5 separate regions of the Homo sapiens genome follow, and regions 1, 2, 4 and 5 are each linked to region 3. Evidence: promoter capture Hi-C in human tissues and cell types (Jung and others, 2019). All regions are on one chromosome and are shown on one strand. The core of a region is centred on a gene start or on the middle of the fragment in contact, and the rest is flanking DNA. Distances in the headings are between cores, read along the strand shown.

Evidence for each region. Contacts are between HindIII fragments. The study calls those that stand out against the background at their distance.
Region 1: a fragment that was not itself captured here is called in contact with the fragment with the promoter of SYT1 in region 3 in 1 of the 25 tissues and cell types used here (dorsolateral prefrontal cortex).
Region 2: a contact is called between a fragment that was not itself captured here and the fragment with the promoter of SYT1 in region 3, in 1 of the 25 tissues and cell types used here (dorsolateral prefrontal cortex).
Region 4: a fragment that was not itself captured here is called in contact with the fragment with the promoter of SYT1 in region 3 in 2 of the 25 tissues and cell types used here (dorsolateral prefrontal cortex and mesendoderm cells).
Region 5: a contact is called between a fragment that was not itself captured here and the fragment with the promoter of SYT1 in region 3, in 3 of the 25 tissues and cell types used here (IMR-90 fibroblasts, dorsolateral prefrontal cortex and hippocampus).

What each region holds. Positions count from the first base shown.
Region 1 is chr12:78,173,767-78,177,230 of GRCh38, forward strand. NAV3 (neuron navigator 3) reads left to right here. Exons shown (of 40, transcript NM_001024383.2): 25 at 1,540-1,661; 26 at 2,673-2,693; 27 at 3,375-3,464. Among named protein-coding and RNA genes, the nearest start is that of LINC02424, 180 kb to the right of the region's middle. The HindIII fragment of the contact is 3,925 bases long and covers 1-3,464 here.
Region 2 is chr12:79,379,641-79,383,060 of GRCh38, forward strand. All of the region lies in intron 9 of SYT1 (synaptotagmin 1), which reads left to right. Among named protein-coding and RNA genes, the nearest start is that of MIR1252, 38 kb to the right of the region's middle. RefSeq lists an enhancer at 1,453-2,051. The HindIII fragment of the contact is 3,813 bases long and covers 1-3,420 here.
Region 3 is chr12:78,863,524-78,867,199 of GRCh38, forward strand. It overlaps SYT1 (synaptotagmin 1), which reads left to right and starts at 1,251. Exons shown (of 11, transcript NM_005639.3): 1 at 1,251-1,586. RefSeq lists a silencer at 35-94. The HindIII fragment of the contact is 3,235 bases long and covers 1-1,615 here.
Region 4 is chr12:78,255,728-78,259,132 of GRCh38, forward strand. No RefSeq gene overlaps it. Among named protein-coding and RNA genes, the nearest start is that of LINC02424, 100 kb to the right of the region's middle. The HindIII fragment of the contact is 3,437 bases long and covers 1-3,047 here.
Region 5 is chr12:78,193,199-78,196,771 of GRCh38, forward strand. The region is part of intron 34 of NAV3 (neuron navigator 3); the gene reads left to right. Among named protein-coding and RNA genes, the nearest start is that of LINC02424, 160 kb to the right of the region's middle. The HindIII fragment of the contact is 5,529 bases long and covers 1-3,573 here.

The sequences.
Region 1 (3,464 bases), core at 292-2,791, 690 kb before region 3:
TTCTTCCTATAAAATTTTTCAGCATGATTGCCTCAGTAGAAAAATTAAGGGACTTATTGATATATATGTATATGAAGGTGAGGATACACATATACACACACACATATATATGTAGGTAAATACATATATTACATGTCTATCAATCCATACATACTCATTTATTATACGTTTTGAAAGCAACCAGTTATAGTTTTGTTGCCATGGATCATTTTTACTATTCAGTAAATCAGTCAATTGAAGAGGCTTGATTTTATGGTATTAGTTTTTTGGAAACTGTCAGCTTTATAGTAAATTTTGACATCTTACAACTTCCACTGAGATTTTTTTGCTTGACTAATCTGCCTTGATGCCAATAAGTATATTAACGGAAATGGACTAAAAGCAAATGTGACTTGAAGCACAATTTTGTAAATTTTCTTAGTGTCTCAGTAATACTTAATACTAGTGCATTTTAGGTAGGAAAATTTTCAGTTTGTTTTATTTTAAATAACTATAAATCTTATAGTTGCTTGTATAAAAGAAACAGATACCTTTAACATGATTAAATATCAAATGCTATTCTCTTCAAAATATCTTAACTAAAGAAGCACTGCCTGCTCTTAGAAGTTAAGCAAGGCCATACCATATGCTGCGTACATGGCTTTTAACACAATGGATATTAGAAACAGCCTAAGGCTGAGACTGGCTCCACTATTTTTCAGCTATGTGACCATGTGAAAGTTACATTTAGTAATTAAACTCATTTCAGTAGTTTGCTTTAAGAATAAAATTAGGTACTCCGGGGGCATATCAAGCATATTGTAAAACCTAGTTTGATTATTATTTGTTATTGGTATTACTATTACTATTCTATAATAAGTCATGGGCAGGCAGTAGGGGTACATTGGAAGAATTGCACTGTCTTAAATATGTCCTCTGTTTAACTCACAAACTCAGTCTACCTAGGCTTTCTTTGGAGGATCTGCCTTTCATTGGCTGTTTGACTTTGGCCAAGTTACTTAACTTCTTTTCACTTCAGTTTCCTCATCTGTGAGATTATGTGCTTACATGACTTCAGGTTTTGTTTTGGCTCTAATATGGTATGATTCTATGAAATGGAAAGTTAATACATTTGGCTCTAGTAACTGTATTTGAAGCACAAATATTAAAAAGCACAATTAATTCTCATTCTGAGTTTCCATTTACTCTTTTAAATTAATCATTCAGAATAAATCATTTTGGAAGAGCTGCTTGATCCAGGTATTCAGTAGAAATCACTAGCATAGCATTTAATTTTAGACAAAACTGAGAACTCATTAAACTGCCAGGGCTATGGACTTATATGAGATTCTCATTAAATCTTAATGTAGATAACTCAGTTAATTAAAACAAATATGGTTGTACTTTATTAAACTTCTAAAGTCAAAACTGCATTGAAATTATCTGTACAAAGCCTTGTTGACCTTTATTAGAGAACTGCCTCTCAAAAGACCTAAAAGACTTATTTGTTCAGATCGAGACTCTTCATGAGCCGATGTGATACTCTCCCTCTATTGCTAGATCTTCGCATCAGAAGACAGCATTCCTCTGAAAGTGTTTCTAGTATCAACAGTGCCACAAGCCATTCCAGTATTGGCAGTGGTAATGATGCCGACTCCAAGAAGAAGAAAAAGAAAAACTGGGTAAGTTACCATCCTTCATCTAATTCAGAAGCTTATTAATGCATAATGTGTTAGGCCTTTTTCTTTGGGGCTTTAGTGATCTGCAGTAGTTTACAAAGGGTCCCATTCAAGCTACTGAGACCTCAAATGCTGCACTCATCACCAAAATTGGAGTGGCATGTACTGAAAAGCATACATTTTAATGTTGGGACTAAACTTGGGTTTGAATCACCACTATATCTAGACCTTTTGAGGGGCCTGAATTTTCTAACCAATAAAAAGACAGTTAATAGCAACTATATTTATTTGTGAATATCATTTATTCACAGATGTTATCTAATTTTTCTATAGTATAACTATACAAACTATGTAGTATAACTATAGAGTTATACTAAAGAAAAATAAGATAACATCTGTGAATAAATGGCTTAAAATAGGGGTTTATTGTGGGCATAGAGATGAAGGAAAAGTGAAAAAATGATGATGATGGTGATGATGATGGTGATAGTGGTCTTGGAGGAAAAGGAGAATGGGAGTTAATAAAGGGAAAGAATAAACAATGAAACTCTCATTCCACCTTTGGAATCGACAGGGCTTACCGTGTGAATAGTTTCACCCTAAAAGAAATCAACCACATTAGTGTCTGCTTGATGTTTTTAACCAAGAGAATATAGCAGAAATATAGAAATGCACTTTAACAGAACTGTACCTTAAGTTTGCTAGTGATATAATTTATGATATTGATCAATAGCTAAATAGCCCAGGGGAAGATACTGTTACTGCGAAAAATTTAAAAACAATGGAGTCAATGATTTCTTTTAATACCAAAAAAAAAATGTAGATTTTGAGTAAATACAACTCTTGATGAAATCCAGACATAATTATCAGAGGATTTTACTGGAGTGCTTTCTACAAATAATGAAAGAAATATCTTTTTATCTTAAAAAATGTTTATACAGGTAATATTTTAAAATACTGATCAGCCTTCATTCCCTTGATTTGTAATTCCACACTCTTTCATGTTTCTGCAAGGTGAACTCTAGAGGAAGTGAGGTGAATATAAACCGTGGACAATTTGGCATGCATCTATAAAAAAACCCTACCTTGGCATGAATGCTATCCATTTTGGCAGTAGGCTTTTATACCTTTTAAAACAGATTACCTTGTATGTCTTTTCTTTGTGTCTTTTCATTTTAATCTCAAATTTTAAAGAGATGTAAAACCACTTTCTGAATAGAGCTGTAGGGGATACCAATTCTGGTTTTGAGTAGTCTGGGGTTGGAAAATTTGAATAGAAAAATCACAATTAATGAAGTGTTAGGTGAATTTGATTTCATTTTGCTTTTTAAGTTTGTACTGTCAGCAGGACATGACTTGATTGTAGCGCTAAAGTGGCCATTTAAAACAAATTGCCTTGAAGAGAGAAGCATTGGGAATGGAGATCCCTTCAAGGTACTTAGTTTTAAATGAGTGCTCTGACAGCCATGCCCTTGACCTTGCACTATTTAAAAGCCTTCCATGTTTGCGCTGCGCTGGATTAATACAAGAATAAAATGAACACACAAAACACGGTATCATTTTTTTTTTAGAGATACTGTGCTGCAATTGTTAATACTCTGCTTGTACATACTGACCCCAGGCAGTGGCTAGGATGGCATCTGCAAACTAACGCCCCAAAGCAAAAGCTCTCCAAGTGCAAATAGACAAGAAGGGTAATTTCTGTCCTTGTTTCAGCTGAGAAGTTCTTTCAAACAAGCCTTTGGGAAGAAAAAGTCCACCAAGCCTCCTTCATCACATTCTGACATTGAAGAGCTTACTGATTCA
Region 2 (3,420 bases), core at 602-3,101, 520 kb after region 3:
TTGTCTTTTGCCTCTTCATGTAGTAATCGTGTATATGTTTATATACTGAAGAATCAATCATCCAATAGAAATCTAGCTTTGATAACTATGTTTACTAAGAGGATACTAAAATTACCCATAAGGTAATTTAAGGGAATTCATTACCCAAATAAAAGACTATGAGCATAAAAAACTATAGATATTGCTGAGAGTTTACTTACTGTGCTTAATACTTCACATGTACTATTACGACTAATTTGCCTTCTTGAAAAGATGAGGAAACAAGCCTAAGGAAATTAAATAATTTGCTGAAGGTTACACCCGAGAGCAAGCAACTGAACCAATCATCTAACCCAGGCCTTCTAACTCCATTTGGGTCATCTTTTCTGATTTGTGGCTCTAAAACCCCCTTTCCAGAAACAATCTGACATTTTTAGAAACCTTCTTTTAGAATTGACGTATTTTACTGAAAAAGATTCCATTTCTTTTGAAGATTAACCAGAGATTTTAAAGCTAATCTTGGCTTTTCTTTCAACATTTCTTCACCACTGCCACCCCCACCAAAAAATAAGAGAAAATGCAGTTTCTGTCATTTAGATATTTTGAGAAAATATTAACTGCAGAAACAAATTAGCATGCTCTGAAAAACAAGTCCCAGAGTTTAGAGAGACTCTGACAAAGATGCAATTTGAGTGTGTTCCTCAAGCACATTCATTGCCATTTATACCTTATTCACAATCAGCAAATCTGGCTGTGCCTGGGATGAAGAATTTTTTGTTTATTTATTTTAGAGACAGAACTTTGCTCTGCCACCCAGGCTGCTGCATCCTAGGTGATGTAGCCTGCTACATGATCATAGCTCACTGAAGCCTCGAAACTCCCCTCTTGCCTCAGCCTCCCAAGTAGTCGGGACTACAGATACACACCACCCTGCTCTGCTAATTTTTTTAATACATGGGGGTCTCACTATATTGCCCAGGCTGGTCTCAAACTCCTGGCCTCAAGCAATCCTTCCACCTCAGCCTTCCAGGTATCTGGGATTGCTGGCATGAGCCATCATGCCCAGCTAAACAAGTTCTTCCCTAAAAGTGAAGAGGGCTTGTTTAAAAGGACTGTAATAAGCTTCCCTTGCAATTCCCCAAGTGGACTTTGCAAAATGTCCTCCTCCCCTCAATTCTTCCACCTCCTAGAAACACCTATTCATGCCTTCTTCCTTCCTGGAAGCCCTAGGAGTTTCCTGGGGTTCCTTGAGCTATGGCAACCCCATATGTATGATTCCAAATTTAGACAGAGGAGTGTAACCTGTGTCCTAGTGTGCAAGCCCAGGAAAGAGAATTAGCACCAATATGTGATACTAAACACTTGACAATCTTTCCCTCATTTAATTCCTACGACAAAACTAGGTAATACTGTCATTATCAACAATTTGCAGATAGGGCTTAGAGACTCTGAAATCTGAAGTCCATGCCTTTGGCTACTCCACCATAATTTCTCCTAGGATTTAGTAGTTTTTATTCCTTGAAACATTGGCAACGAATGGCCTACTATATTATTATGCTGAATTCCCTGATTCCTACTTTAAAACACAACCATTTCCATTTTCGAAAGATTATAGATCCATCTCTTGCTTGCCTGAAAGTAACACATTCTTTCTTCAAAGGTAAAACTGTACACCTAAACTTTGTAAAACTCTGTAGTTGAGACTGTCTCAAGTTCCTGTTGAATCAGATAATTGTTATCAGATCCCCTTGAAAAAGATAAAAGGACCACCACTGTTACAAAGTACAGAGCAACAAAAGCCAAGGCCCAGTTAACAGCACTTCATTGAAATGCAAGAGGCATCTCTGTGTACTTACTTCCCATCTTAGACACAGGAGAGCAGGGGGTTTGAAGGATTTGAATTCTGAATTTCTGTTAGAATAACATCTGCCAAGAATAAGCCCTGAATGTACTACTTTTACCTGTAGAGAAAAATGAGCTTATCACTCAGGTCTTTGTCGAGATAATACCTACACCTGTTGTCAGGCTAAAGATTTAGATAGTCCTGGATGAAATTCCAGGTCTGCTGTGTGAGTGTTAGGGAGCATGGTTGAGCTACAAATTGCGTGGAAGCAAGCTGATTTTAAGTTGCCATGGCAAAGAAAATGCAGAGAATGAGCAGCTTTTACATTAATGTTTTCTACATCTTGTTAGGATAGGATTGTCCAGCTGAGGGGTGCTTTTTTTGTGCTTCTACTGACATGAACAGATAAAATAATAAACACTAATTATAGAGTATTATAATGATTTCTGGGCTTGCCTCAGAGGGGCGTCTATCTGGCTAGGTAATTACTTCCCTGACAGATAGGTTTTTACGTGAGAATGGAGCATGATGAGCCTAGTTTATTGCCTGCTGATGAGACCACGGGGGAGGAAGGTCATGCGGTATGCTTATTAAGACCATTTTAGTCAACGTGTTTTTCAATCAGTCGTCAGGGTACCCACCCCTGGTTAAAGAAACGCTACAGATGAAAATGACACAGTGATTCTCAGTCGTGCGAGTCTGTTGCTTTAGGGAAGTGACTAAATGGTAAGAGACTTCTCAGGTTGAAGTGGAAGGCATTTCTTGAAAATATGATGCCTTTGCCTATAATGCTCTAAAGTTGATCCCTAGTGTGAAAGAGAGTGCTGCTTTCTGTATGATACTTCATTCCCTGAAAGACTATTTTCCCCAGCTAAGTCAGATTCAAGTTCCTACACAATTCTGGATAATGTTTAGGAGGTATCCTGACTTCAAGGAATTTATATTCAAAAATACACAAACACATGCACTCTTCTCCCTTCTCCCGTAACCTAATTGAGTTTGCCAGGAAAAAGGGGCAATGATTTTTTCCCCTTGTTATTTACTAATAGATAATAAAGAATATATACTAGGGGTAAAAAAGACAGAAAATCAGAGAGTCCAGAGAGGAAAGGAAGTTAAAAAAAAGAAAAGAAAAACTAAATGAAGCTTTTACAAAAATGCGATAGTGTACACGTACTGCCCTTCTTGAAATGATCCATCTTATTAAATGATGTGGTTTCAGTGCTTACCTCTTAGTCCTGCTACACCTATGGGAATTTGGAAGAAAGCTAGGTTTTTCACTTTTTAAATGATGGCAAATGTTACGTGCTCCAAACGCTGAGTAGAGATTCTTGGATTGTGATGAAATATAAAAATATAGTGCAGTCCCCACTTTGAATTACTAAACAAACTCAAATATTGTAAAAAGGCAGGCATTTCTTGACTGCTCATACAACATAAACTTTTCTCCCAAGTAGTCTGTGTCGTGTGTGAAACTGTAGATAATAAATCTAGGCTTGTTTGCCATGTCTTCTATGAATGCTCGAAGGAAGTTTATCCACACCTAAACGTAACTGTTGAAATATTTATTGGCATGACATGCTAATAGAGGCCTTATA
Region 3 (3,676 bases), core at 1-2,500:
GATAATGGACGGGCCCCTCTCCCAGCTGGGCTCCGCTCCCGCCCCTAGCCTGGCGCGCGGTCCCTTCCCCCACCCGCTGAGCCTTCCTGTTCGGTATTTCGGTATTACCAAGCTATAAATTGCCTGAGAGCTTAGAGACAATCAGGTCACCACCGCCCTCACAAGAGAAAAGCTTCTTACTTCCGAGCAGAACGGTTCAGCTGGGAAGAGAGGAAGCAGGGAGAGAATCTATGCTTTAGTCGTCACTGCTCTGGCAAGGGGTCGAGAGAGATGGGGGAGGGAGGTGGCAAAAAATAAAAATGAAAAAATAAAAAAGCATCTCCAACAATGTTGCACTTGACCCAAGTGTACAAACTTATTGGTCGCTGCAATGGAAACTCCCAGTGCACTCTCCACGGCCTGGCAGCCGCCGCTGATGGGTGGAGTCGCGCTCCCGGCCCCACCTATGGGACGGAGCTGCTTCTCCCGCATCTCGGCTCCACCGCACCCTTCGCGGGAAGTCCCCAGGCTTCCAGCAAAGCTCAGCTTATCCCGCCCCCGCTTCCAACCCGGAACCCCAGAAGAACAGCATGATGAGCCTCCGGCAGCCAGGTGGGCCACCTCCCCGCGGCTCAGTTTGAGGACACTTGTGCGGAACCCTTTCACATCCCCACCCTACCCAGCTTTCACAACTCCGCCGGGTTAAATGGCCAAAGACAAACTTCTACCTCTCCTGTCCCCGGTCCCAGCTTTTCAAAAACCCACAGCTGGCGAACCCACACACATCGAAACTCCTAGGTCGCTGTTGCAGTCTGGGCATGCTCAGTATCAGGGTAGGTTTTGATTGAGAGTAAAAAAAAAAAAAAAAAAGCTTTGTATTATGCTCTCTTTCTCCTGTGCATACTGCTTGCTGAACAGCTTGTGGGGCATTCCTGAGTCTACCTAGAGGTTTTATCAGACGCCCTTGATTGTGTCTCCTTGGGATCTGTTCCCCTCTTACTTCACCCCCTCCCCCAACCCGCCTCCACCCCGCTTCCCAGGTCCCTGTCCGCTGTGGGGATGGAGAGACACTAACAGAACTGGGATGGGCGATGTTGGCTGAACGGATCCACCTATTATTAGTGCGCGGGGATTGGCTCCTTGGCGCAGCGTACCCGAGGTGGAGCCAATCAGGATGCTGGGGCTCGGAGATGATGGGCGGCCGCCTCCTCACTGGAGGGATTCCTGGAGAAGCTGCAGTGTGGGGATGCTCTAGACCGAGTACTGCCCCCAGTGTCTTTCCACCTCCTCCTGCAGCAGCGGCAGCGGCAGCAGCAGTTAGCAGCGGCAACTTGAGGCTGCACCCCGGGCAAGTCCCCAGGGTGGTGCTCAGCCGAGAGGGGGGCTTGGCGCCCCGAAGGGGTGTGTGTAGGGTGGGGGCGACCACGTGGGACCAGCTGGTGGCCCTGGAAAACCTCCCACACACCCACACCCACACACCCCTTTTGTGTTGCAGGCTGCCCCTCCAAGAGCGGAGGCAGCGAGAGTACGCGTGTGCCTCGCGCCGGTCCACGCGGGGAGAGCACTGGGGACCGAGACCCGGCACCACCTCCCGGTCCGCCCTCCAGGTAAGGAAGCGGGACTGGCGGCGCGGCCACCTCGGCGGTGCCTATCTGCTCGAATCCATCCCAAAGATTTTCTTCTCGATACACTTGGGTTTTAGTGGTGGGAGTCTGAGACCTAGGGAGGGATCCCCGGGTGGCCTATTGTGAGAAATATGAGACTACATGTGCATCTCCTGGAAAAGCACTTTGCACAGCGCCCGTGATTTAGAGCCTGGAGTTGATGTTGGGCATCCCCCATCTTCTTGCTTCCTCTTTCCTTCTCTTGTTCTCTCTCCTCCGTCCCCCACCCCCAATCTCAATCTTTTCTCTCTTTCTCTCCCACACCTCCCCTCTCGCCCTCCTCCCACCCTAAGCACGCACAGCGTTTCTTTCTCCTCCTGGAGAGGATTGCCTTTCTTAGAGGAAAGAGGGGGAGTGAAGAAAGGAGAAAGATTTCTTTCTGTTGGGGAGAGGGATATGGGGGGGGGGGGGAACGTAAACAAGATAGAATACAAGCTCTGCGAAAATCAGAGCACATAAAGCAATTAAACTGAATAAGGGGAGTAGACAACCAGTCCAGCTTGGGCTGTCAGAGAGAGGAAGCGTCAAGTTTGACTTGATTTCCTCCTTGCAAGAGTCTATGTCTCTCACTTGATTCGTTCAAATGGAACAAAAATAAACCGACAATCCAACCCACTTTCAACTGCTTAATTGCTTTTGCTTTTGAGTGCCAACCATCTGACTTTTCCTGTTTCCATCTGTCCTGTGGGGCTAACAATTTGGTATTGCACATCAGTGTTAATATCTGAACTTTGAAAGCTTTCTTGAGTAACAAAAAAAAAAAAACAATTAAAATAGATTATTACTTTCCTGAGGTTTCTTGGTATGGCCTGTTGTTGGGGGATCAAAAAATGTAAAGTTTCAAAACATTTGCAAGGGACAACAATTTTATAGGGAGGCTTGGATTTCTACTTTGAGAAAGCTAATCTTCTAGTTAGCTTTGTGTACATGTTGATATTCACTTTCTCCAGTATTAACCCTTTCGTGAAATAAAGCAACTGTTTAACTTTTGTATGGAAGCTACATTTGTGTAGAATTTTCACTTTATTCTACCTTTGTACTATTTGCATTTTATTGTCTGGATACCAAACTTATGCCTGGCTTTATTTTCTTTTAATAGGACAATATTTAATGGATGTAAACATGATGTTTATACAATTTCAGCACTCCCTTTAGAAGGCACATGGAGGCTCAGTTGGACAAGAATCCTCCTGTACTGGAACTAAGTTTAGAAAGTAATGCTAGAAAGATACCCTAAATTTTAAAAATCCTGAAGGGGAAAACATTTTTGTAACGTCTTGTTAAAAGAAAGAAAAATATATCAAAACACCAACATGCCCCTGGCTGCCTGCATAATAGGTCAAGTAAATGGTACTTGTTGGACAGAGCCTTTACAGCAGCTTCAGCAGTCTCTAATTCCATCATTGGGGATATAAGCTTTCTTTTCTTATTATTCTTCAGGGACAGCTAAGCGATAGTACTGTCAGATGGAAGGAGGTATAGAGAAATGCCTCGTTTGATGTAATAGGAAAGCATTCCAAGTGGGTCTTACCTGAACACAGAGAAATCCACAGATGTTAGTATACAAAACACTTCTTTTTATTTATCAGGGGAAATGCAGAGTCTTACTTTTTTTTGTCTAGAACTCCACTTGATATAAGAAAAGAGAATCTTCTATCTTAACTGTGTCTGACCTTCCACACTAATTTTGTATCTCAGAGAGTATTTTTTCACTACGTACGTTTAATATATAAGTTTACACACCAACTTAGAGAAGAGCTGAATTCATTTGCCATCAGTGTAATGTGTACTATTTTCCAAACCATTTTGCATTTGAGGCAATGATCTCTCCCTAAATAGAATTACCAAGTCACGAAAAACGATTTTCTTTCTAGGGCTTTGACATTTAAATGAAAAAAAAAAAAAAATAGTGTCTCTGTTGAAAGCTAACTCTGGTTTTTAGAGGTGCCACCTTTTGGTTACAAGGACAAAGGGACAATCACTTAATTACCTCACATGTATGTACAACTGAATTAACAAGTTTAGACATGAAA
Region 4 (3,405 bases), core at 79-2,578, 610 kb before region 3:
GGATAGTTAGCTCTTCTTGTTGAATTGATCCCTTTACCATTATGTAATGGCCTTCTTTGTCTCTTTTGATCTTTGTTGGTTTAAAGTCTGTTTTATCAGAGACTAGGATTGCAACCCCTGCCTTTTTTTGTTTTCCATTTGCTTGGTAGATCTTCCTCCATCCCTTTATTTTGATCCTATGTGTGTCTCTGCATGTGAGATGGGTTTCCTGAATACAGCACACTGATGGGTCTTGACTCTTTATCCAATTTGCCAGTCTGTGTCTTTTAATTGGAGCATTTAGCCCTTTTACATTTAAGGTTAATATTGTTATGTGTGAATTTGATCCTGTCATTATGATGTTAGCTGGTTATTTTGCTCGTTAGTTGGTGTAGTTTCGTCCTAGCCTCGATGGTCTTTACAATTTGGCATGTTTTTGCAGTGGCTGGTACCAGTTGTTCCTTTCCATGTTTAGTCCTTCCTTCAGGAGCTCTTTCAGGGCAGGCCTGGTGGTGACAAAATCTCTCAGCATTTGTTTTTCTGTAAAGGATTTTATTTCTCCTTCACTTATGAAGCTTACTTTGGTTGGATGTGAAATTCTTGGTTGAAATTTTTTTTTTTTTTTTTTTTTTGAGACAGAGTCTTGCTCTGTCACCCAGGCTAGAGTGCAGTGGTGTGATCTCGGCTCACTGCCAGCTCCACCTCCTGGGATCACGACATTCTCCTGCCTCAGCCTCCCAAAAAGTTATTTTCTTTAAGAATGTTGACTATTGGCCCCCACTCTCTTCTAGCTTGTAGAGTTTCTGAGGAGAGATCAGCTGTTAGTCTGATGGGCTTCCCTTTGTGGGTAACCCGACCTTTCTCTCTGGCTGCCCTTAACATTTTTTCCTTCATTTCAACTTTGGTGAATCTGACAATTATGTGTCTTGGAGCTGCTCTTCTCAAGGAATATGTTTGTGGCGTTCTCTGTATTTCCTTAATTTGAATTTTGGCCTGCCTTGCTAGGTTGGGGAAGTTCTCCTGGATAATATCCTGCAGAGTGTCTTCCAACTTGGTTCCATTCTCCCCGTCACTTTCAGGTACACCAATCAGACATAGATTTGGTCTTTTCACATAGTCCCATATTTCTTGGAGGCTTTGTTCGTTTTTTATTCTTTTTTCCCTAAACTTCTCTTCTTGCTTCATTTCATTCATTTGATCTTCAATCACTGATAACCTTTCTTCCAGTTGATCAAATTGGCTACTGAAGCTTGTGCATGTGTCATGTAGTTCTTGTGCCGTAGTTTTTAGCTCCATCAGGTCATTTAAGGTCTTCTCTATGATGTTTACTCTAGTTAGCCATTTGTCTAATCTTTTTTCAAGGTTTTTAGCTTCTTTGCTATCGGTTCAAACATCCTCCTTTAGCTCAGAGAAGTTTGTTATTACTGATCTTCTGAGGCCTACTTCTGTCAACTTGTCAAAGTCATTCGCCATCCAGCTTTGTTCTGTTGCTGGCGAGGAGCTGCATTCCTTTGTAGGAGAAGAGGAGCTCTGATTTTTGGAATTTTCAGCTTTTCTGCTCTCGTTTCTCCCCATATTTGTGGTTTTATCTACCTTTTGGTCTTTGATGATGGTGACCTAGAGATGGGGTTTTGGTGTGGATGTCCTTTATGTTTATTAGTTTTCCTTCTAACAGTCAGGACCCTCAGCTGCAGGTGGGTTGGAGTTTGCTGTAGGCCCACTCCAGACCCTGTTTGCCTGGGTATCACCAGCGGAGGCTGCAGAACAGCAAATGTTGCTGCCTGATCCTTCCTCTGGAAGCTTCGTCTCAGGCGGGCACCTGGATTATGAGGTGTCATTTGGCCCTTACTGGGAGGTTTCTCCCAGTTAGGCTACTCAGGGGTCAGAGACCCACTTAAGGAGGCAGTGTCTCTGTTCTCAGAGCTCAAACACCGTGCTGGGAGAACCACTGCTCTCTTCAGAGCTCTCAGACAGGGATGTTTAAGTCTGCAAAAGTTTCTGCTGCCTTTTGTTCAGCTATGCCCTTCCCCCAGAGGTGGAGTCTACAGAGGCAGGCAGGCCTCCTTGAGCTGTGGTGGGCTCCACCCTGTTCGAGCTTTGTGGCCGCTTGGTTTACCCACTCAAACCTCAGCAATGATGGACGCCCCTCCCCCAGCCTCACTGCTGCCTTGCAGTTCAATCTTGGACTGCTGTCCTAGCAGTGAGCAAGGCTCCATGGGTGCGGGCCCCTCTGAGCCAGGCACAGGATATAATTTCCTGGTGTGCCGTTTGTTAAGACCACTGGGAAAGTGCAGTATTAGGGTGGGAGTGTCCCGATTTTCCAGGTACCGTCTGTCACAGCTTCCCTTGCCTAGGAAAAGGAACTCCCTGACCCTTTGTGCTTCCCGGGTAAGGCAATGCCCTGCCCTGCTTTGGCTCACACTACGTGGGCTGCACCCACTGTCCAACAAGCCCCAGTGAGATGACCTGGTACCTCAGTTGGAAATGTAGAAGTCATGCGTCTTCTGTGTCGCTGGGAGCTGTAGACTGGAGCTATTCCTATTCAGCCATCTTGGAACCCCGAGAACAACATAATTATTTTCAATGCAGCAATAGTAAGTCATAGAGGGTTAGAGAGCAGAGCTAGTCAAACTAAAGTCATAAGTATCTTTCCCAAGGGAGTCATATTTATTTCTATAGCCACAATCTAATGGTGCCTCTGGCCATTTCTCGGATACAGCTACAGGTCCAGTAACCACACAGGGAGCTGGATTAGTGTGTGTACAACTTTTCATGACCAATGAGAAGTGACAGGGCATACTGCCCATGATTGACTGCATATGTGTGTGCACAAAAACACCTGTATCCTAGACATGCCAATCAGTTCACCTGCTACAATTCACATTTTCTTTTTGCTTATCCTCCCTGACCACAGCCAAAGACATTTGCTTCAAGATACTCCCTGCTCCACCTCCCCAACAAATCTTGCCTCAAGTTGATTAGGCCATTAGTGGCACCTAATAGAAGCCAAAGCCTCCAAAGACCAGACTAAGTCAATTAGATTATCCATTTTAACAACAGAGACATGTGTATGTTTATGTAATATCCAGATTTGAAGTCACGTATATTTTAGGTCTGTAAAAAAAAAAAAAACTTATGAGTAGTCAAAAGAGACTGATGGAAGAATGATGCAGTTATACCAAGTGATTTAAACACAGTTGTAAGAATTTAATGCTGATAGCAGCACTTGTCTAACTATTTTCTCCTTGTTCTTTAGATTTCAACCTCACCATCCCTTCTCCTATGAAGCCTTTACTATTCTCTAAAAATTAGTTGGGTTCTGCATTTAATATGTCACCTGTGTTCAATTTTACTATTTCAAAAGTTTTTAGATAATTGGTTTAATGTTAATGTCTATGCTCTTCCCTAAACTGTAAATGCCAAAAG
Region 5 (3,573 bases), core at 130-2,629, 670 kb before region 3:
CAGTACCTCTGCACTTTACATTCTGTTCCTCTTCCCACACTTCAAGCCCTCCCTCAAGCTGCCAGCTGGAATATTTTGATTGAGAGCAGTACACATAAACAATTACACTTTGTGACATTCGATATAGTAGGCCCAGAGGGCTAGAGGTGGATTTAGTAGAGAATACATGGTCAGCTGAAGCCATTTGGAATGTTAGGCTGGAAAAGATCAGAAAACTGTACCTGATAGATTCCTTTTTAGTGTGTCTGGAGTCAGCATCTGAGAAAGCAGTGATCTACCATTTTTATGTAACTGTGGTGTTCCACCTGTAGTTTCAGAGTATGGGATTCATCTCATTGCCAACTCCCATCTGGTAGATATGCCTGTTTCCTTCTACCTGACTAGATCTGGAAAAAAGACTTTTAATGCCGGTGCATCAGTGCCTCAATCTAAGATTTCATTTTCATCAAGCTAGAGTGGGTATCATGAAGTTATTTCAAGGGAATCTGTGAAAAACTCCTCTAAGTTATAGGAAAAAAGTTTATTTATGTTTGCCTGTTTCTACATCCATTGCTTTATACCTACCATCAGATTCCCAGGGGATCCACTACCCTCTCAAGATGAAAGAAAGCCACATTATAATTAGAACCTAAAGGCTCTGATTGTCCAAAAATGACCCAGTGACCTGCTAATTACAAAACTCAATTCCTTTGTGCCTCCCCACTCTCTCTCTCTCTTTCTGACATTCATGTTATCATTTTCTCCTTGTTTCCTGCTCCCTGGTAAATTGCTTTTCAGTTTTTTTCTCTCTGCTCTTCCTTCACTTCCCAGTAAATGAAACTGTTTTTCTTTATAATGAACTATTCTGTTCTCTCTCACTTTTATTCTCCTTTGGATGACTCTTGTGGCTTCAACTTGGCTTGACTTGTGTGGTTGACTTCAATTAAACACTATCAGCCATGCCCATTCTCCCAAATTTGTAAGCTTTCTATCATCCTACACATATGTTTCTATTCACCTACTAAATATACCTGTTGAGAATTGACAATTTCAGCCCCAAACACATATTATAAGTTTATCCTCTTCCATTGCTTTCCAACAAAACCACCCTCCACCCCAGATTAACATCCTCCTCTGTTGTTTCTTGGATTTCTACAATTATTTTTTAACTACTTGATACACGATTTCCTTTAAATTTCCCTTCTCTCTTTTTTTGGGATATATTCATTCACCTCATGGAACATAGAATATCTTTTCATAATTAAAATCTGATCAAATTTTTCAATGTTTTCTTATAGATTTCTGTACTACATCAAAAACATCACGTTGTTCCTTGTTCAGTCCCTTAGTATCTCTAGGCTTCAATAATTTCAACATTCTCTTGGCTGGTCTTGCTTCTTCCTTTCAATATGCTCACCACATGTTAAATCACCATTGTGACTACTTACTCAGGTCACCAGAAGAATGTTTCTTCACTGCCAAAAGGAGATGTCCAGCGATCTTACTAATCATTTAAGGTTGCAGTTTCCTTTACAATTTCATTACCACCATTTCCTTTCACAAAACACATATTCTTAGCTTTTTTCCTACATGGATATCATATTTTCGTGTTTCTGACTGGTTATTCTTCTCTATTTGGAAAGCTCTTCTGTTGTGTTTAAGCATCAAGGTATTACCCAATCTTTAAAATAAGGGAATAATAGCAAATCATACTGCCACCACAGTACATTTTCCAGACGCTACAATCAATCTTTACATACTATAAACAAAATCTTTGATCTATACTTTTTTGAAGTAGTGTATTATTTTGACTGTGAATTATTGTTATATATGTATATGCCTGACCTTCTATTCCAGGAAGGTAATAAGCTTCTTAAATGCTATTTCCTTTTCTAATTAATTCTTCTATCTTTCACATTTCTGTTTCCTTGGATAAATAAATTGCTTTCCTCTACTGAAAACAAAGAAGCAAACAAACATATCAATGTTCCACACTTCTTTATATAATAAAATGCAACTTCTTCTGCATGGATTCAAAGTCTTTTTTTCTTTTTTATTGCCACCACCAGTAGCATGTACTATATTTTTCTATAACCACAGAACACTTATTTCCCAAAACACATCATACACTTACACTTTTCAGGTTTCACTTTTTATTCTTTAGATTTCAATCCTTTTTATTATTATTATTATTATTTGCTTTTTTTTCCCTTTTAACCACTGTACTCTGTTTTTCTGTGAACCTTAAGTCTGGATTAGATGCCTCTCTTATGTCTCCCTATAATGTTTTGTGCATTTCACTTAGCACACTGTATTGTGAATCACTTGCTCACCAGCTTCTCTGCTTATCAACTCTAAGTTTCTGAAAGACAGAAATTATGTTTTATCTCTAAATCCCTGGTGCCAGCAGGATGTGCCAGTTGGAATTAATCTCTTTCCCTCCTATAGGCCACATGCCTCCTTTATCCTCTCTCATGGAATGTTTTACCTTGCATTTTGTAAATTCATCATTATTTACATGTGTGCCTACCACCCCACTCAGGCTCCAGTGTTACCTCCTCCAGAAAACCATTCTTGACACCCAGCAGCTAGGCTAAATCTCTTCCCTTGACTTCTCATATCTCATAATATATTTATGATATTATATTGATATCATTTGTAACATTTAAATTCCAGTCCCTAATGTGACAACTCTTAGAGCTTGCAGGGGAAACCAGCCTGATTACCCTTTTTAGTCCTCATGTCCGGAAAAGTACTTGATGCAGTTCATAATAAATGTTAAACCTACTTAAACTCCATTGATAGCAGGAATCAGACTTCACTATTTTTGTATACCCAGGGCTTGGTCTAAGGCTATGAACGCAGTAGATAGACAGTGCATATTTTATAAACGAATGAATGACTTAATGTAGCTAAATTAGTGACATAAATTTTATTTTTTCTTTTGAAGTAAATAGAATTCTCCAGAATATTCAACAGTTTTAAACATATTTTTTTCTGCATTCTCTGACTTAGGCAAGATTTATTTTATGTGATTAGCTCAATAGAAAACAAATAGTACTTTATTTCCTTAATACATTTTTATATTTGAACATAAATAAAAATTACTAAATGCCTCAAAATCCTGGCCCGTTGTTTTATCTCCTACTTTTATTTCCAGCAGTGGTGTTACAGACAGAGAGAGGTTGCATCTAGAGTGAGCAATTCACATATTTACCTGGCTGCCAGAAACCAAAATCATGGAATTGTTTTATAACCCTGAGCACGATTTGCAAATTGAAAATGTCATTGTAAATATGCAAATATTATGGAAATGTTCTTACTGATTAGGATAATTTTAAGAAACCTAATTATGTTCCTGGCCTACCCATCTGTGAGAGCAGTCAATCAGCAAACTGGTTATCATATTTAGATTAAAAGCTATTAGACAGGAATAATACCTGTAAAAGAACCAATAAACTCAGGAGATGCTAAATTTTGTCTTTGTTTAAAATTACAGCAATTGCATGCAGATTATAAATAAATAATAAGCATACTTTTATCAAGGTCCTATGGCTGTACTTTTAGATATACCCCATCTACCTGAATTAGAAT